2 separate regions of the Homo sapiens genome follow, and region 1 is linked to region 2. Evidence: promoter capture Hi-C in 16 types of primary human blood cells and fetal thymus (Javierre and others, 2016). All regions are on one chromosome and are shown on one strand. The core of a region is centred on a gene start or on the middle of the fragment in contact, and the rest is flanking DNA. Distances in the headings are between cores, read along the strand shown. Region 1 has its middle 11 kb from the start of DTX4. Region 2 holds the start of OR4D6 (olfactory receptor family 4 subfamily D member 6).

Region 1 (2,873 bases), core at 341-2,840, 300 kb after region 2:
CTCCAGCCAGGGTGACAGAGTGAGACTCCGTCTCAAAAAAAAAAAAAAAAAGAAAGAAAGAAAGAAAGAAAGAAAGAAGTGAGAAGTGTGCTGTTTGGCTTTCAAATGTTTGGAGGTTTTTCTGTTATTGTTAGGTTATTGATTCCTAGTTTGATCCCATTGTAGCCCAGAGGACACACTCAATATGATTTCAACTCTTTCAAATTTGTTGAGGTTTGTGTCATGGCCTAGGATATGATCTATCTTTGTATTCACTCTGTGGGTGCTTGAAAAGAATGTGTACTCTACTGTTGGATGAAGTGTTCTATAAATGACCAGTAGACCCTGTTGGTTTATCATGTTGTTCCGTTCTTCCATATCCAGGCTGATTTTCTGTATAGTTGTTCTATAAGTTGTTGAGAGAGGAGGATGTTGAGTTCTCTAACTATAATTGTGGATTTGCCTATTATCCTTTTAGTTATATCAGGATTTGCTTAACATATTTTGTCACTTTGTTGTTTTGTGCTTGCACACCTGTAATTACTGTGTCTTTTAGGTGATCAATCCTTTTATTATTATATAATAGCACTCTCTGTCTCTGGTAATTTTCTCTGATCTGAAGTCTATTTTATTTAATATTTATAGTGGTGGACTTGGACCACACATTATCAGCACCACTTCTGGAGGATCTGGAGACTAAGGTCAGCCATATCTACATGAATAGCCCCCAGTAAAAACCCTGACACTGAAGCTCAGGTGAGCTTCCCTGGCTGATGATACTTCATGTGTATTGTCACACATTGTGGCTGGGAGAAATAGCACTATCTATACAACTCCACTGGGAAGAGACAGCTGGGGCATAAATCTGAAAAGACTGAACAAGCTCTATATGAAGAAAACTACAAAATTCCGATAAATGAAATCAAAGAATGACTAAATACATGGAGAGATAGTCAATGTACATTTATAGAAAGGCTCAGTATTGTCAAGTTATCAGTTCTTCCCAACTTGTTCTACAGATTCATTGCAAATGCAATCAAAATCTCAGCAAGTTAGTTTGGATGGGAAGGAGGGAAATTGCTCAAATAAATGGTATTTTTTCACTTTCAAATTCCAGTTGGTACAATGCACAGCTGGAATTTGAGAGATAATTCTCTCAAATAAATAAAATAATAAATAAAGGGAGAATTTATTTTATTTGGAATTTCGGAGAGAATTCTCATTTTTCTCACAGCAATTGATTTAGGGGATGTAACTGATTTTTACTCTCTCCCTTCTCTGGTGTCCATTCTATATCAGCCTCAGCCTCAGGTAATGCTTCTCCTAGTATTGGTGTCTTACCTGGTGGCAGGACCCAAATCTTCATTTCTGAGGGGTCTGAGACCCTGGCTGCCATGCTATTTTCAAGCTATGGTGGTGTAATTGTCTGTTTACTATCAAATTTGGTCAAGTAGGGTCCAAATGGATCATGTGAGTGGCAAACACATTTCTCCCTGCCCTTACTGTGTCACATAAGCACTTCCTCCTCCTGAAGAACTGGGTTAATTGCCTGAGCCCAGGCAATGACTCTTCTTGCATACTGGTCTCTGGATACAAAGTCTTTGCAGTGACAGGCAGAAGCTATAGCTTAGAGTTCAGCAGGACTCTTTCCGTGTCCCCTGGCAGAAGTGTGCCCCCACAGGGAATCAGGACCTTTCATCCTACAGAGCCCTGACCTGGGGGCTGGCAGGGGCATGGATGGCAGAGGGAGAGACAGGAAGCACAAATTCCCTAAGTGTGTTATTAGGGATACAGATAAAGCTAAGCAGGGCCCTTCCTGCCTCTACCCTTTGTTTCCCAGGCTGATGTATAGGCCTACATAGGTCAGATACCTGACATGGGTCTCGCTGGACTAAAATCAAGGTATCATTATGGCTCAGTTCTCTTCTGGAAGGTTTAGAAGAGAATCTGTTTCCTTGCCTTTTCTTTCTCCTAGAGCTCACTCACATTTCTTGGTTCATGACCCCTTCCCCCATCTTCAAAGCCAGCAGTGTTGCATCTCTCTGTGCCTCTTTCATGGTCACGTTTCCCTCTGAATCTCTGATTCTCCCTTTTCTCACCTTTAAGAATCATCGTGCTTACATCAGGCTATCCAGATATCCAAGATAACCTTGCTATCTTAAACTTAGATGATTAGCGGTCTTAATTCCCTTTTCCCATATAACCTACATGGTCATATTCCAGGGATTATGGTGTGAACATCTTTGGGAGCCTGCTCCACACATTTGTCATACAACTCACTTGTGGTCTCCTTTCCTGCTCATGCTGCACAATGCTAGGCATTCCAACTCCATCATACGAGAGACTGGTTTTTTGGCCACACTTGACATTATGACTTGATAATTCTGATAGAACTCACTAAAAAATGGCGAGATTTGGATGCAGAGTCACTTAATGTCTCATGGTTAGGTGCTCCCTACCAGGGCCCAAAAGGTATATTCAAACAGTATATAATTCAAAAGGAGTTGTTATTCAAAAGATATATAACTATCCACTGCAAAAAACACGGGCTTTCTCCAGAACCCCAAAACTTTGCCTTGTAATTTTCCCACTTGGGCTTGCTATCAACTCCACATGGTATCTTTTCCCACATCTGATACCAGAGGGTCAGCCAGGGCACATGGTCCAAGCAGCTGTACTGTTTTCACTATAGCTTGGATCTTCTGGGACCCTTTCCTAATCCAGACCCCACTCAAGGCTGGCAGCCTATAGCATCCCCTGTAAATTGGCTGAAACAGTATACCCATGCATGGAATATGCTACCTTCAGAACCCAAAGAGATTTATCAGGCAGTGTACTTTCTTTTTCTTCATGGGGTATGCAAGATTCAATAATTCATCCTTTTCTTTGGATGG
Region 2 (2,863 bases), core at 253-2,752:
AAATAAAATAAAATAAAATAAAATCAAGTGATTTCAATAATTGACTGGATATAGCAGAGTCACCAGAGAAAGCATATATGAAATAAATGTGTCTATATTCTGTGTATATGCACATTTAGGAAGAGAGGGGTAGGTAATAGGGAATGTTGATTGAATACCTGATTAATGCCAGGAGCAGTACTAACCTTCACAACTATCATCCTCACAGCATTGATCACATTTCATTCTTTTGACAAACTTGTGAGCAAGTAATGATATTTCCATATTACTGGTGCTAAAAGTGAGATAAGTGTTGGTATGAGTCACAGGTAACACCAAAAAGCATTTAGGGTATTGATTTCAACCTTATACCCTCTTCTTCTCCTGAGTCCACAAGCTCGATAGCTCACATTGTTTAATCTCATTTCTTCTTTTTGTTTGTATACTCCCGCTAATAGAATCGAGCGGCTATGAAGATATACAATGAAGTAGTGGAAGAAGAGCTAGCGACCTGTTACTCTTAGGCTAGCATTTTGAGAAAACTAAGTCAGACAGACTTCCACTCTCCATCTGACTGCTCACCCCCATTTTCTGCTCTCGGAAGGCCCAAGTCTCCTCTGCAGCCTCTGCATGGCTGACTTCATCTCTTGATTTCTCAGGGAATAGATGATGGGGTTCAGCATGGGGGTAATGACCGTGTTATTAATGGATATGGTTGTGTCCATGGGCAGCGTCATGAAGGGCCGGCAGTAGATGTAAACACAAGGCACGAAGTGAAGAGTCACCACCAGCATGTGGGACGTGCACGTGGAGAGGGCCTTGTTCCGCCCCTCCCCAGAGTGGGATCTCAGCATCACCAGAATGACAGTGTAGGAGCCCAGGAGCAGGAGGAACCAGAGCAGGGTCACCAGTCCGTTGTTAGAGATCATGAAAAGCTCCAAAGCAAAGGTGTCAGTGCAGGCCAGTTTTACCACCTGGAGCACATAACAGTAGAAGGCATCCAGTGTGTTGGGGCCACAGAAGGGGAATGGAAGCATCAGAATTACCTGGATGATTGAATGCAAACCACCACTCACCCAAGAAGCCACCACCAAGGCCACCCACACCTCTTTCCTCATCATGGTCACATAGTGCAGGGGCTTGGCGATTGCAAGGTATCTGTCATAGGCCATCACAGAGAGGAAAAAAATATCTGCCCCACCAGCAAAGTGGAAGAAAAAGATCTGTGCCATGCAGTCATTGTAGGAGATGGTTTTCCTGTCTGATAAAAGATCCACCAGGAACTTGGGGACGGTGATAGATGAAAAAACGATGTCCAGGACTGATTTGTTCCGCAGGAGAAAGTACATAGGAGTGTGTAGGCGGGACTCACAGGTAATAGTGACCACAATGAGTGCATTTCCCAGGACTGTTGCTACATACACAGCAAAGAAGACCACAAACAAGAAAAACTCCAGCTCTCGGGAACGTGTAAGTTCCAGGAAGAAAAACTCCTTCACATTAGTGTGGTTGATCTGGTCCATGATGGGGATGACTCTCTTCCAGGTCCTACCTTTGATGAAGATATGTTAGAACTTGGATTATGGTGACATGAGGTGGCAAAATCATTGATCACATACTGCTCTCAAGCATCCAGGTCATCATGACTACACAGAAAAACTGGGCCAGTCTTCTCTTTGTGGTCTGGAAATTCTTCTTTCATATGGTTCTTCTTTCTTATTGTAAATACCTTGGGTTAACAGGAAAAAACCATCACATGTCTGTATCCTCACTCTGACCAGAGAGAGATGGATGGACTATGGCCATTTGCCTATGCTTTACCAAGGGCTTTCACCTGCAATAGCTCATACTGATTTCAATTCTCATGAAGTTTCTGAAGAGTCTTTAGTATGGTTATCTCCATTTTATATACGGGGAAACTGAAGCTTTACAGCAGTTAATGACTTACATCTGCATAGTCGCAAAATTAGTGAATTGTAAATTGAGGATTCAAATACAAATCAATCTCCTGACTTGAGAAAGATTCCCTCCTTGACCAAATGTTGGTTAGGCTCCTCTGAGCCCTTTTCTTGACTATGACTCAACCTTGACCTTCTGTGTCTGTCTTTGCTGAGCCCAATTTTAACAGGAATCTTGCCAAGTCAGTTTAATGAGAATTCCACACCCTTGAAATCTAATCAAATTCCTCACCCCTTACCCTTTTATATATTTATTATTTTTAACCTCATCCCTCACCCTCAATATCTAAGTCCTTGGCCAGTCTTTAGCAAGAATTCTTTTATGCCAGTTTAGCAAGAACCACCCTACCTTTGATATCACTTCTTAGTAATTTTCAATCCACTGACCTCCCTCACTCTGCTCATTGCTTATAAATCTTCACTTGTTTTCACTATATTTCGAGTTGAGCTCAATCTTTTTCTTCTATTGCAAGAGTTTTAAATGAAATCTATCTTCCTGTCTTTAATAATTGTCTGGTGAATAATTTTTCTTTAACATAACAGTCTCCAGAGGTTTTTCCACTGTACAACTCTGAGAAATCAGAGAGTCTGGGGCTTACTTTGGCTTACCGGAATTCTAGTGTGTATATAAGGCTTAAACAGTTTATTAAGTAGTTTGACTACCTAATCCTTATCTCATCCCTTATAAAAAGAGAAGGGTCAGGCCCTCATAAGTACTCCTCTTTGGCACTCTGGGAAGCCTGGACCTTGCTATTGACACACAGGGCTCTTTGTATAGAGCCACAGTCATTGTTCAGGGCATGTTTTAGTATCACAGAAAAACTGATCATTAGAGCGTCACAGGACTTCAGAGATAAATTAGTCTAATGTTTCTTACTTTAGAAGTGACTAGAGAAGGACATTTATTTTTTTCAGAATCAGAGTTT

What was found. Contacts are between HindIII fragments. The CHiCAGO score rates a contact against its expected background, and 5 or more counts as called.
Region 1: a fragment that was not itself captured here is called in contact with the fragment with the promoter of OR4D6 in region 2 in 2 of 17 cell types (M1 macrophages and M0 macrophages); the score reaches 5.8 in M1 macrophages.

Annotation. Positions count from the first base shown.
Region 1 is chr11:59,159,877-59,162,749 of GRCh38, reverse strand. No RefSeq gene overlaps it. Among named protein-coding and RNA genes, the nearest start is that of DTX4, 11 kb to the left of the region's middle. The HindIII fragment of the contact is 6,486 bases long and covers 1-2,873 here.
Region 2 is chr11:59,455,600-59,458,462 of GRCh38, reverse strand. OR4D6 (olfactory receptor family 4 subfamily D member 6) reads right to left here and starts at 1,502. Exons shown (of 1, transcript NM_001004708.1): 1 at 558-1,502. The coding sequence starts at 1,502. The coding sequence ends at 558. The HindIII fragment of the contact is 6,869 bases long and covers 1-1,906 here.